Linked DNA regions of Homo sapiens: all the other regions are linked to region 2. Evidence: promoter capture Hi-C in 16 types of primary human blood cells and fetal thymus (Javierre and others, 2016). All regions are on one chromosome and are shown on one strand. The core of a region is centred on a gene start or on the middle of the fragment in contact, and the rest is flanking DNA. Distances in the headings are between cores, read along the strand shown.

Region 1 (2,700 bases), core at 132-2,631, 720 kb before region 2:
GAAAGTAGAGTCAATTTAAGTTATTAAGTCAAGGTCCCATCCAAACTGTCAGCAAATCGTGTTGGCTCTATCTTCAAAGTATTTCCAGAATCCAACTGCTTCTAATGACATTCCCTGCTATCTGCCTCATCTAAGCCACCATCATCCCTTACCTGGGTTATTCCAACAGCCTCCTAACTCGTCCCTGTTTCCACCCTATGATCCAAGACAATTCATTCTCCATACAGCAGTAATAGTGATCCTTTTAAAACACAAGTCAGGTCCTTCTTCAGCTCAACACCCTGCCATGGCTCCCCATTTCACTCAGTAAAAGCCTATAAGGTGTGTGATCTGCCTCTCCACTACCTCTCTGACATCCTCTTTCAGGTACTACTCTCCCCCTCACACAGGCAGCCTTGCAGTTAGGATTAGGGCACACTCCTGCCTCGGGGCCTTTTTACTGGCTGCTCCCTCTGCCTGGACCGTTTTTCCTTCAGATATTCACATGGCTTGCTACCTGAATCACCTCCTTCAAGTCCTTGCTCAAACATCACCTTCACGAGTCCTACCCTGACCATCTTACTGAAAAAATGTAACTCCCTCCTCTCCTATCACGGCGTAGAATCTACTATTTCTATGTTTACTGTCTGCCTTTTCATACTAGAATATCTTTCCATAGTATTAACAGCTCCATAAGCACAGGAAGTTTTGTGTTCACACATGTACTCCAAATGCCTAAAAAGTGCCTGACACAGAGTAAGTGCTCAATACGTATTTGTTAATAAATGGGCTTCTTAACAAACAAGCATATATGCCCAAAGGTATGCTCCAAGATACAAGGAGCAGCATTTTATTCGCTGCTACACCCACAGCGCCTAGCATCTGGTCGACTAAAAGACAATCGGAGCTACTGAAGTGACTGTTACCTCTCCGAGAGCAGAGTGAGCGGAGACGAGACCGCACCCCTCCCCTCAAACCCAGCCCAGCCCAGCCTACTCCGCCCTTCACCTGTGAGGAGACACCCAGGTGCTGGAAGCTGTAGTCCAGCAGCAACTCCTGAAGCTCCAGGTTGACCGGCACGTTGCGGTCGAAGGGCGAGCGCAGCATCCAGCGCAGTGGCTCCAGGCTGCCCAGAGCGTTCCCCACCTGCGGGCCCGACGCGCCCCGTGCCCCGCCACGACCGCGGGCGCACACCGCGCGGAACTGCAGGCGCGGCTCGGGACCTGGGTCCTGCCCGGGACACGCCCAGCCAGCGCGGACTTGGAACGACCCGTTGTCCAGCACCAGCGGTACCGGCAGTGGCCCGTGTGCCACCGGGCCGGCCTCCAGCACTGGGTCCGGTGCGGCACGGGCGTCGCGGAACGGGAACACGTTCGCCGCCATCTTGGAGCGCGCGTCCAGCCCCGCCCCTCGGCGCAGTGTCCGCCCAGACGCCGCGAAACCGCGCCCCCGACGTCACGCCGCGCGATTCAGGCCTTTAAGTACCTCGATGCCCCCTCCCTTCTCGAAGCCCGGCCAGCCTTTCCACTTGACTCGCCTCTGGCTGTCAAGGCTGCTTTCAGGATCGCTGAGACGTACCCATTCTGGCTGCGAAATTCTACGTTTCTTAACCTCTCCCCCAATAGCCTATGAGTGCCCACGCCCCTTCACTCTAGCCGGGACGCCCGGTTTGGAAGCCCCGCCCCAAAGCCTATCGCCGCCAGGCCCCGCCCCTTTCTGGCTGCCAGCTTCAGCGCCGCGCTCGGTGGAGCCCCGCCTCTCTGCCTGGCCACGCCCCATTGCCGGGCGCGCACCGTCGGCCGGGCGCGCACCGTCGGCCGGGCGCGCACCTTCGACCGCCGGCGGCCCCGCCTCCGCGTGGCTGTCTCGCCCTCAGTCTTGCGTCCTGGCTAGAAGGGTCCTTTATCTTTTGACGCTTCCTTTACGTTAAGAAATCTCAAACTCTGCCGACTGTTCAATTTCTTGACTAGGGAGCTGACTACTCAGTTCTGTTCACTTTACTAACTCGCACAGACTGTGTCTTCTCACTAAGACACAGTGTTTTCTCAAACCCTGAGAAAAGACTGCTGATTGTTCCCCAAGCATTCCCTCTCTTTTAGTGGCATCACCTCCCACTCCCACGTGGCCATCCGTCTGGCTGCGATCTAGATGCGCTCATGTGACTAAATTCTGGCCAGGAGCGGGTGGGAGAGGAGGCCATGTGTGTGACCCACTCAGTTTTAGCCCTAAAAGCACTCGTCGCGCTCTATCCTGTCGCATTTCCATCTTTTCACTAGCTAAGGGGGTAAGAATTAGAGCAGTTGTTTTACTACAACCTTTTTTTGTGCAGTGGGGCGATCTCGGCTCACTGCAGCCTCGACTTCCTGGACTCAAGTGATTCTCCCGCCTCAGCCTCCTAAGTAGCTGAGATTACAGGCGTGCACCACCACGCCCAGCTAATTTTTATATTTTTAGTAGAGAAGGGATTTCACTATGTTGCCCATGCTGGCCATAACCATTTTGAAAGAAGAAAAAGAATAGAGCAGCTGCCTTGAATCTACTCTACCAGGTCTATAACACTTCAGTTTGAGAGATAAAATCAAATTAGTTACAAAAGATATTGTAAGCGAGAAATGAAACTCCTAACTTATCTCAAGAACCTCTATTAACAGTGTTTGTTGTTGTTGTTGTTTGTTTTTTTTAAGACGGAGTCTGGCTCTGTCACCCAGGCTGGAGTGCAGT
Region 2 (2,729 bases), core at 108-2,607:
AACAGAATGAGTTCAATGAATTGTCTGTCAGAACCTGAGCAGGGCCTGAAATCAATGACAACTGCATGAGAGAGGAGAGGAGAGGAGAGGTAAGGTCTGGGTGGCCCCTTAACCTAAGATGGGAGAGACTACCTACTTCACAGGGCTGTTCTAAGGACTGAGTGCGAGGATACACACAAAGGTCTTAGTATAGTGACTGGTATGAAGTAAAGGCTTTGTAAGGGGTAGCTATCCTTGCCTCCCTCTTACAGATGAGAAAACGGAGACACAGGGAGATGAAGAAACTCTCCCAGTATTATTCAGCTGGCAAATAGCTGAGCCAGGACTCGATCTGCAGAGTCTGACTCCGGAGCCCACTGGCTTTTACTCCAAATACCCAGCACTGGGCCCGACATGCTAGGGCCAGTACGGCAGTGAATGCAGCCGAGATAATAACAGCCACAAATGTCAGGGGGAAACTGAAGGGAAAATGGCTTGATGAACTAGAAGTCTGGACACCTGAGTCCCAGTCCGTGGACCCTCAGGCAAGTACCTTAAACCTTCCCGGGCCTCAGTTTCCTTCTTCGAGAAATGGGGCTAACTTTGTCTCCCATCTCAGAAGCTCGATCAGGCCTGGAAAGCAAGGCTCAATGAAGAGGCTTAGAGGGGCCTAGGTTGTATGTGGGCGAGAGGACAATCCGGGGACCGTCCAGGGGGTGGGGATTTGGTGTTTACCTTTGCGGAGCTCGCGGTGCCACACGGAGACGATGGGTCCCGCGTGCTTGCGGTGGTGGATGAGCCAAAGGGACAGGGTCTGCACGCTCTGCTGAGAGTTGCTCAGCTCCGAGAGCTTCTTCTCCAGCGCCGACTCAGAGAAGGAGGACATGGTGGCGGCAGTGAGGCCCGGCAGGGAGCGGCCTGGGCCGCCCAGTGCGGCGGGAAGAGCGACGGCACGAGGCCGGGGCCTCACCTGACAGGCTGCGGGACTTTTTACCGACTGACAGACTGCCAGGGGTGCGAGAAGGGGGAGGGGATGGGTCTCCGCAGTAACAGCCGCCCGCGCCGCCGCCACAAGATGGCCACCCGACCTCTCACCCTGCCGCGAGAGCGAGGTCAAAGGGCAAGGGCCGGAGCAGAGGGGCACCGAGAGGCGTCGGAGCTCTAGAAAACCGTCCCTTTGGAGGCGGCGGCCGCTCTGAACCTCGCGCAGAGCACTTCGAAGGAGACAGAGCGAGGCAAGGAGAGTAGTTCCCCGGGCCCCCGGAAAGAGCTTTGACCGCTCGAGCCTGCACACCGGCGCAGTGGATCTCGCCGGAACCCTTTTTCCCGCTCCCTCGGAACCTTTCTGGCGCGATACGGCGCGCTACTTAGCGCGTCACTTCCGGCGAGGCAGAGGAGGCGGGAGAGTGAGAGAAAGGCTGGAAGACGAGGTAAGGGAAGAGTGGCGGGAACCAGAGGGAGCCCAGCAGCTGGGACCCTGTAGAGGGGTATCCTGAGGGGACATTGAGTCTGAGAGATCATGATCTGGATATGGGAGGGGGATTTCCTTTCTAATCTGGCGGGCCCCAGGCCGCATCTTTCCTCCATATGTGTTCGGCTCTCTGGCTGTCCCCCAAAACACTTAGTTTTGGTTCTTCCAAGCCACCCACGTGCCCTTTTCACGCCTCCACGCCCTGGCGCTCGTTCTCTGTCCGAAAGTGACATCCCCTTTCTCACCTGGTGAGCTCCTACTCAGCCCCCCGGAGCACCCTTTAATGTCCTGTTTTGACCTTTTAGTCTGTAACAGCGCCGTCATGAAACACACATTTGGGCTCTCGGCTCTTAAGTGGGTTCTCACTCAGGGTATTATTACGTGCTGCTTTTGCCGTCTGCGGGTCCAGTTGACTTTTTCGAACTTAAGTGAGGTGTTAACTTTAGGGAAAAGGTGGAGGGAACTAACTTAGCCTTCCCAATGTGTCTGTTGACCTCATGTTGAGACACACTATTTGAGGCCTGGCGCAACGTCTCTTGCTTGTAATCCCAACCCTTTGGGAGGCCGAGGCGAGAGGATAGCTTGAGGACTGGAGTTCAAGACCAGCCTGGGTAACAGCGAAAATTAGCCAGGCATGGTGACGCTCACCTGCAGTTCCAGCTACGCGAGAGGATACCTTGAGCCCAGGAGTTAGAGGTTACAGTGAGCTATGATCGTGCCACTGCACTCCAGCCTGGGCGATGGAGCGAGACTCTTCTCTGAAACAAAACAAAACACTATCTGAGACTCTAAACCTTGACCCTATTTTTTTTTTAAGTTTTAAATCCCAGGTATCAAAGCAGCAGAGAAATTTTGTTTTTCTTACTGCCACGGGGGTGATGGTAGGGAGTTAAGTTATAGACATAAGAGGGTTTTAAAATTTCCTGATCGTGGTATAACTTCCTAGTTGTGGGCAGACTCTAGTTTAGGAGACGTTCTTCTAGTTGATGCCTGCTTTTGCTCTTATTGCACTGTATTGCAGTTCTTTGCTTACATGCTTTTACCCTTCCTCCAGACTGGAATCATAATCATAGCTAACGCAGTGAGAGGTTACTATGTGCTAGACACAATTCCCACACAGTAACTCATTTAATCCTCACAACAAAGCTGTGAGGTATTATATTATCCCCCTTTGGACAGCGTAGGAAACAGGCTCAGAGAGGTTAAGTGACCTACCCAAGATCACATTACTAAGACTTGAGGGAAGGGGCTGCAACTTAGCCATCTTTTTGGCCCCAGT
Region 3 (2,700 bases), core at 198-2,697, 830 kb after region 2:
CCATGGGAAACTCATTCCATTAAGATGACAAGTTGGAAAACAGCAGAGTCGCAATTTACAGAGAGACAAGCCCCAGAGTATTCAACGACACCTATGGGATGCTTGCTGTTATCATACACTTGAGAAAATGAAACCTGAATTTCCAAACAAGACAAAAATCACACATCTGCCCGTGATAAACGCTGTGCTCAGAAAAGGCAGTTAAGATAGCCTAGAAAGAACTTCTCAATTAAGATATCATTTTTTTCTCTTTGGAATGAGAGAGTGCCGTGCTGGTAACAACCTCAGAAGTTTTAGAATGAAATTAATCCACTGAGTTTTAGAAAGTTTTGTCACTGGCTTTAATTACTTATTCCCCAGCCAGCAATTTCTTTTTCTCTGGAGCATAGTACTGTATTCGAACACTAAGAAAGCAGATCTTATCTTGCTAATATATAGCAGATGATTCAGAGAAATTGATTTATGACAGACTACAATGAGATCTTCTCAGGTGGTTCATTCAAATCTACAAGTATTTTCTTTTTTTCCATTCAAGACAAGTTTACAAATATACACTTCCTAGAAAAAGCCCATTTAAATATAGAAGGCCCATTCAGAAGAGTTCTAATTTATATCAGCTTGCCTTTAATAGCGCAAATTAGTAGTAATATAAGGCAACCTACCAGTTGGATTTCACAATGACCCTACGAGACATTCTCCAGGTTTGCATATGAGAACACTGAGGTTTAGGCGGGCTAAACAACCCACTCATGGTCACAGAGGTTGAGTAGAAGAATGGATTTGAACACAGTTCTTTCTGCTCCAAAGCGTATGTTCTTCCTACCTATGAGCTTTCTACAAGACAACAGAAACACAAAAGTATAGTTTCATCCTTTATTAACTCCGTTGGGTACAGACCATGTGCCAGGCTCTCTAAGCACTGCAAGTAAAGCTTATGGCTGGGTGTGGTGGCATGTGATTATAGTCCCAGCTACTCAGAAGGCTAAGGTGGGAGAATCGCTCACGCCCAAGAGTTTGAGGTTGTAGTGAGCTTTAAATATGATCGCATTGCACTGCAGCCTAGATGACACAGTGAGACCCTGTCTCAAAAAAAAAAAAAAAAAAGCTTATGACCTAACATACAAATAACAACAACGAAGGAAGTAACAAACTCTCTAAGAAGGGGGACCTGTTTGTTAGGGACCTAACAAACAAATGGTCCAGAAAAGGAACTCCGTTTCCTACACGCCCACCAAGAACCAGGCACTGCGCTAGGGTCTTCACACCTATTATCTCATTTAATCCTGTCAGTTGCTTTGATGTAAGAATTATGGGTTTCATTTTAAAGGCAAGGCTCAGAGAAGTTAGAAATTTGGCCAAAGTCAGACACAAGGAATGAAATAGCTGGTGTTCAAACCTAAGTCTGTCTGACTCCAAAGTGGACGTACTTCCCTTGTACTTCTTCCTGGGGTTCTGGGGTTTTGAGGAAGGGGATTTTCCCTTCTGCTTGGAAGGAAATGGGAATTTTTTTTGTAGAAGGTAGCATCAAAGTAAGGCACAGGCACTAACAGTGGCATCATGGCATGAGATGATGGTGACTGGAGAAGCATTCCCCATGAGGGATTAAAAGCAGATATCAAAATATGTCACCTGAAATCAAAGGCCCAAAAGGGCCAAGCACTGGACAAAGTGTGTACAAAATGTCAGCCCTAGAGTCACTGATGATTGACCATGTGAATATAGGGAGGGTGTGAGGAGGGACAGAGAGGGAATGTCAATTGCCTGTGAACCCTGTCCTTAACAAAGCTTTAAGTTTACAGAAAATCTGGTTGTCAGCAAAAAAACAAAAAACAAACAAAAAAACCTGGGAAACAATCTCACTGTTTTGAAAGGGGGATTTGGTATCACCAACCTCTTGCTAAACAACGAACGGGATTCCAGAACGGTGCTCCACACCCTCCTTCAGGGTTTGCAGTGAAACGGTGAACACAAATAAAATGACAAAAAAAATATTGTTTTAAAGGAGCAGTTTAAGTGTTAAAAAAAAAAAAATTACAACCGGCCTGGACAACACAGACAGGCCCCATCTCCACTAAAAACTAAAAAAATTAGCTGGGCAGCCGGGCGCTGTGGCTCACGCCTGTAATCCCAGCACTTTGGGAGGCCAAGGCAGGTAGATTGCTTGAGGTCAGGAGTTCAAGACCTGGCCAACATGGTGAAACCCTGTCTCTACTAAAAATACAAAAATTGGCCAGGCGTGGTGGCGCGCCTGTAATCCCAGCCACTGAAGACGCTGAGGCAGGAGAACTGCTTGAACCCGGGAGGCGGAGGTTGCAGTGAACTGAGATCGCGTCACTGCACTCTAGCCTGGGTAACAGAGTAAGACCACGTCTCAAAAAAAAAAAAAAATTAGCTAGGCGTGGTAGTTTGCACCTGTAGTCCAGCTACTCGGGAGGCTGAGGTAGGAAAATCACTTGAGCCCAGAGTTCAAGGCTGCAGTGAGTTTGATCATACCATTGCACTTCAGCCTGGGTGACAGAGTGAGATCCTGTCTCTAAATAAATAAAAATTTAAAACTACATATATTATCACTTAAGAGCTTAGCAAAAAACACCCTGAAGTTACAATATTTCCATTTATAACAAATAGGAAAGGTGCTTCTCCTTCACCTAAGCCTTTTGCAGAGTAGTAGAGTCTGATTCCTAGAATACTCCACCCTCT
Region 4 (2,700 bases), core at 118-2,617, 810 kb after region 2:
TCTACAGCAGAATTCTGGATGAGACAAGTATTCAGTGAAAGTTACACTTCCTCACTAACTCTCCTTGCTCTAATCCTAATCCTACTAGTTTAGTCTTTTACTTTCTTCTCTTTGTACTCTTCCTTCCCTTGTGCTATTTGGTTGGCAAATGTCATTCTGGGAAGAAGCTGGGAAATGCTAAGAGGCTGAAGTACTCAAAGGTCAGTTAGGCTTGGCTAAGGGCCCTAACCAAGCTGTCTGGAGTTTGGGAGTAGGGAGGAGAGAGGAGCAGAGGACTCCCAGGACTGTGGCCATAGAGGAACGTGCTCCTGGGGCACAAGTCCAACAGCTGCAGCTGCAAGAAACAGAAAGCAAGAAGGTTCTCAAGTAAATCCAGTTGCCTCTGAGGTCTGCCCTGAAGCTGCCTCAAGGCAACAAGTCTGCTGGTCCTTGCTAAAGCATCGGTACAGGGTACCCCATACCAAACTAGGTCCCGCATTCCTGTCTTTCAGCATTCAAAGTATTTATCTGAATCTTCCTTCACGTAACACTAAAGGCAGGTTATTCTCCATCAAGGGGGATGACAGGCAGTGTGGGAGTGGGGGTATCTGAGTGGACATGGGGCCATATTAGGTTCTCAGGGGAAAGAGTATATGGTTTGAAAATCTTTTAAATAATAATTTTCATTACTCTATGAAAAAAATAAAGCCTATTGCTTTCATAATACAAAGTAAGCACAAGTTAAAAGGGCTATTCTTCAGAGTCCCACAAATACAAAATCTGCTTTGGCTAGAATAAAAAAATGCTTTGGGTCTTCTTTTGAAATTATTTCAGTATATTCCCTTATTTATTTATACATACATACATACACACAAATGAGGTCTCACCATATTGCCCAAGCTGGTCTCCAACTCCTGGGCTCAAGTGATCCTCCTACCTCTGCCTCCAAAGTGTTGGGATTACAGGCGTGAGCCACCATGCCTGGCCAGCACATTCCCTTTTTTAAATCAGAAAGAAAAAGCCTCGAGTCTAGTGCCATGCTTATAATCCCACCACTTTGGGAGGCTGAGGCAGGCGGATCACCTGAGGTCAGGAGATGAGAACAGCCTGGCCAACATGGTGAAACCCTGTCTCTGCTAAAAATACAAAAATTAGCTGGGCATGGTAATGCATGCCTGTATCCCAGCTACTTGGGAGGCTGAGGTAGGAGAATCGCTTGAACCTAGGAGGCAGAGGTTGCAGTGAGCTGAGATCACACCACTGCACTCCATCCTGGGTGACAGAGCAAGAGTCCATCTGAGGGAGGGAGGGAGGAAGGAATGACCTTAATTAAGTGCAAATCTGCCTTAAGTACCTCTCCTCAATACCAGCTAACTTTTTAGAAAGAAGGGTGTATCCCAGGTAAAGGACTACAACCAGTAGAAGGGTGAGAGTGTCATGTGGGAGAACCTGATGGACTGTCAGGGTTCGGTCAAAACCTGAAAGCAGGAACGTGGAATTCTCTCTAGTCCATGTTATAGACCACATTGTAAACTCTAGTATCCATTCACATTTCAGGTTAAGAGAACTGTCTAGGTGTCTTCCTGACCTGGTGAGGAGTGAGTTCAGCACCAGTGTTCACATCTACCAGCTGGAAGAACAAGGCGAAGTTCTGGTGGCTGTCTGCGATGAATGTGCCCTTGGCTTTGGCTGGGTATGTCACCCTGAAAGAGGCATATAGAGTTAGTCTTCAGAGAGGATCAGTATATCTCTGAGAACAGGCAGAAAATATATACTTCACTTCATTGCCTCAACCACCCTCTCCCATAGTAACACTTCTGTTGTGGACAGACAGATGTGGAGAACTGTCTGCAACCTGGGGGCAAATTGGACTGATAAAGCCTGGACTGAGAAAAGTGCAGAATAAACTTCCAGCAGGATCTGGGGAAATGCTGTGTACAGATGCTTGTACCTCTGGGCTTTCACTTCAAGGACCTAAGGCTCTCAACTCCAACAAAGTCAGGCACCAGAGGAGCTCACGTGTGGCCTCTGCAGGCACACAGGAGAGCCGGGCTGGCAGAACCGCAAGGAGAAATAATTACAGGATTGATGCCAGCAGCACACGTGAGCAAAATCGAGACAAGGCAGGTAGGAGACACAAAAGAAAGAAGGGTACTTTCAGCTTTGTCTTTTTTTAATGCTATATTTTTTTCCTGGACACTGTTTCAATTTAGTTTTCTGCCCTGAAACTGGGTTTTAAAAAGTCATTTTCCCAAAAGGCAGACTTGATGAGGAAAACTTCTTTTCACAGCTATCTCCTGGGATTTTAGGGTAAGATGGCCAGGGGATAAACCAGCCAAATGGTTACAGAGCTCAGACCTGGCTTTATTTTATACTCACATTTTACATTTACTCGTAAGTAAGACCAACTCTTCATCTAGGCAGAGAATTAAACAGCAAAGCGCTCGCACAGACATTTCTTCAGTGGATTCTTAAACAGTGCTCTTATCTCCAATATCACTACAAAAATAGCCAACCCAGAGACACAAAGGCCAACTCTATGTGATTTAAAAGGAGTAGCTGCTTGGCTTCCAGCCTCTGGCTAACATCCCATCTTCAAAGAGCCTTGATGGTTCACCCTACTGTCTTCTGGCCTCTATAGCTACCCTAGTTGAGTAAAGTTGGGGTCTGGACTATACCCCAGAAATCTAGATCCCCGCTGAGCCAATAAGGATCTGGGGG
Region 5 (2,770 bases), core at 87-2,586, 860 kb after region 2:
TCAGCCTCCCAAAGTGCTGGGATTACAGGTATGAGCCACCGCTCCTGGCCAATTTTTTACTTTTTTGTAGAGATGAGGTCTCACCGTGTTGCCCAGGCTAGTCTCGAAGTCCTGAGCTCAAGCAGTCCTCCCACTTCAACCTCCCAAAATGCTGAGATTACAGAGTGAGCCACCATACCCAGCCTCCATAAGTTTTTTTTCATGTATGCCAACATTTGTGTGTGTGTGTTTCTGTGTGTATACACATATACTTATACTTTTGTGAAAATAGTTTTGTTTTAATGAAAAATGTCATATCCATTGTTTGACAGCTTGCTTTTTCTTTCATGAATCTATGCTAAACATTCAGTAAATAGAGACCTGCTCAATCATTTACTCTGCCAATAATTGTTGAGCACTTCTGTATGTCACTGTTCTAGACTCCTGGGATACATTCATGAACAAAGCAGCCAAAGATTCTTGCCCTCATGAAGCTTACATTTTAGCAGGAGGAAATAAATGACAATGAACATCATAAACAAGTGAAAGATATATTGGAAGGTGTTACGTGCTATGGTAAAAAGAAAAAGTAGGAAAGGGTAAGGAAGATAGAGGGAGTTTGGTGAGGTGTTCTACCTCAATCTGGTTTTTTTGATGGGTTTGTTTGTTTTTTGAGATGGAGTCTTGCTATGTCACCCAGGCTGGAGTGCAGTGGCACAATCTCGGCTCACTACAACCTCCACCTCCCAGTTGAAGTGATTCTCCTGCCTTAGTGTCCCGAGTAGCTGGGATTACAGGCATGTGCCACCATGCCCGGCTATTTTTTGTATTTTTAGTAGAGACCAGGTTTTGCCATGTTGGCCAGGCTGGTCTTGAACTCCTGATCTCAGGTGATCTGCCCGCCTCAGCCTCCCAAAGTGCTGAGATTACAGGCGTGAGCCACCTGCACCCAGCATTGTTTTTAACAGCAGCATAGTATTTCTTACCTATCCATTCACTCCTAATGAGACTGACAACATGCTAGGTAGGTATTGGGGATACAAATGTGACCATGTAGACGAGGGTTCTCTCTAATGGAGTTTATAGTCTGATAGGAGACAGTCAAACAAATAAACCAAATGAGCAAGGTAATTGTAGGTGGTGGTTAAATACCATGAAAAAAATAAGAAGGTAACTGTGGGGCCAGGATGGTGGGAGCTACTTAATCTAGATTGGTGATGAATAAATGCCTCTCTCAGAAAGTGACATTGAGGCTTTCAAATAAATGATGAGACAGAAGCAGTCCTGGAAAACTAATTTTTCGCATCTCCTCTTTATTCCTAGGATCTGTAGTCAGGAAGAAGTAGTGATCCCCTGTGCCTATGACAGTGATTCAGAAAGTGTGGATTTGGAGCTGAGCAACTTAGAGATTATTAAAAAAGGCTCAAGTAGCATTGAACTGACAGGTAAAAAGGAGAAAGGACTAGAAAGGGGAGGGGAGGGGAAAAGAGAATGTATTTTCAACTCAGGCCAAGAGGTATTGATTGAGTACTTGCTGGGTGACCAGCCCTTGACTAGACTTTGATGATGAATTTGGTCCCTGACTTTGAGACCTTGAAATACAGTTGGCAAAATGAGATACATGGTTCGTGATGTCCAGGAAACTAAGGTTGGTCCTGAGACAGTTCTGCAGAAGAGTGTGAGTGCTTGAGGGATTCTGAGGAGGGAAAGGGCAGTGTGGGATACCTTGGAGTGGGAGGACTTTATGCAGAAGGTAAGATCTGGATTGGGCTTCAGAATAACTTTCATTCTACAAAACATGTATTGAGTACCAGGAGCTGGGAATACAACAGTAGACATGACCAACATGGTCACTGCCCTCATAGAACTTACATTATTGTGCAGAAAAGAGACCAAAAAGAGTAAACAGTCACTGAAGTAACTACAACTTGTAGTAAGCAGTATGGAAGAACAGGCTGAGACAAAAATAAGGGCAATAGGAACCTACTTGAAACTCTGGTTGTCAGAGAACACCTGTATGAGACCATGAGTGCTATTTAAATCTAAAGGAGGCTTGAAAGATGTGAGAGTAACTCATGTGAGTATAGGGAGTACTACAGATAGATGGGGACAGCATGTGCATGACACAGGAAAGATCCTGGTGTGTTTGAAGCTACCTTCATTCATTCATACATTCATTCAGCAAATACTTAATGAAGCCCTCCTGTGCTCTAAGCTTAATCTAGCAGCTGGAGATATAGCATCGAACAGAACAGACACAGTATACCTACGGATGAACAGGCAAATGGAACTCAGTGCAATCAGTGTGATGGGGGTGGGAGAGCCAGAGTGGATACAGAGCGGTTTATTAGTGACTTGGGGATACTTAGCCAAAATAGGCAAAAAGGGCATACACGAAAGGCATCCTGGAGCTGAGACTTGAAGGATGAGTAGGAGTTAGCAAGGCAAAGATAGGTAAGGGAAGGTGGGGGAGAAGAAGGAGAAAAATGCAGGCAGAAGGAACAGCCTGTGCACAGATCAGAATGAGAACATGGCTTCAATTATTGCAATTAGTGGATGATAGGAATATGGCAGGAAGTGGGTAGAGTTTACTGAAGAGGCATTCAAGAAATCAAAAAGAATGCAAAAGTAGAGTGGTGGCCGGGCACGGTGGCTCACATCTGTAATCCCAGCATTTTGGGAGGCTGAGGCGGGTGGATCACCTGAGGTCAGGAGTTCGAGACCTTGCTTGGCCAACATAGCGAAATCCCATCTCTACTAAAAATACGAAAATTACCTGGGGGTGGTGGCG

Evidence for each region. The method cuts DNA at HindIII sites, captures the fragments that hold promoters and counts their contacts. A CHiCAGO score of 5 or more calls a contact.
Region 1: a contact is called between the fragment with the promoter of ACTR5 here and the fragment with the promoter of TTI1 in region 2, in 9 of 17 cell types (neutrophils, monocytes, non-activated CD4 T cells and 6 more). The highest score is 17.1, in neutrophils.
Region 3: a contact is called between a fragment that was not itself captured here and the fragment with the promoter of TTI1 in region 2, in 1 of 17 cell types (M2 macrophages). The highest score is 5.2, in M2 macrophages.
Region 4: a fragment that was not itself captured here is called in contact with the fragment with the promoter of TTI1 in region 2 in 1 of 17 cell types (M2 macrophages); the score reaches 6.2 in M2 macrophages.
Region 5: a fragment that was not itself captured here is called in contact with the fragment with the promoter of TTI1 in region 2 in 1 of 17 cell types (fetal thymus); the score reaches 5.4 in fetal thymus.

The regions. Positions count from the first base shown.
Region 1 is chr20:38,747,141-38,749,840 of GRCh38, reverse strand. It overlaps ACTR5 (actin related protein 5), which reads right to left and starts at 1,381. Exons shown (of 9, transcript NM_024855.4): 1 at 988-1,381. The coding sequence starts at 1,362. RefSeq lists silencers at 1,146-1,335, 1,636-1,905 and an enhancer at 1,284-1,785. The HindIII fragment of the contact is 9,906 bases long and covers 1-2,700 here.
Region 2 is chr20:38,032,084-38,034,812 of GRCh38, reverse strand. It overlaps TTI1 (TELO2 interacting protein 1), which reads left to right and starts at 1,357. Exons shown (of 8, transcript NM_001303457.2): 1 at 1,357-1,409. It overlaps RPRD1B (regulation of nuclear pre-mRNA domain containing 1B), which reads right to left and starts at 1,067. Exons shown (of 7, transcript NM_021215.4): 1 at 715-1,067. The coding sequence starts at 865. It overlaps LOC124904898 (a long non-coding RNA gene), which reads right to left and starts at 707. Exons shown (of 2, transcript XR_007067579.1): 1 at 1-707. RefSeq lists enhancers at 435-1,030, 1,231-1,500, 1,031-1,626. The HindIII fragment of the contact is 7,242 bases long and covers 1-2,729 here.
Region 3 is chr20:37,199,686-37,202,385 of GRCh38, reverse strand. All of the region lies in intron 4 of RPN2 (ribophorin II), which reads right to left. Among named protein-coding and RNA genes, the nearest start is that of MROH8, 21 kb to the right of the region's middle. The HindIII fragment of the contact is 680 bases long and covers 1,108-1,787 here.
Region 4 is chr20:37,224,670-37,227,369 of GRCh38, reverse strand. RPN2 (ribophorin II) reads right to left here. Exons shown (of 17, transcript NM_002951.5): 11 at 1,568-1,682. Among named protein-coding and RNA genes, the nearest start is that of GHRH, 36 kb to the left of the region's middle. The HindIII fragment of the contact is 5,718 bases long and covers 1-2,700 here.
Region 5 is chr20:37,172,649-37,175,418 of GRCh38, reverse strand. MROH8 (maestro heat like repeat family member 8) reads left to right here. Exons shown (of 25, transcript NM_152503.8): 3 at 1,303-1,424. Among named protein-coding and RNA genes, the nearest start is that of RPN2, 5.3 kb to the left of the region's middle. The HindIII fragment of the contact is 1,721 bases long and covers 476-2,196 here.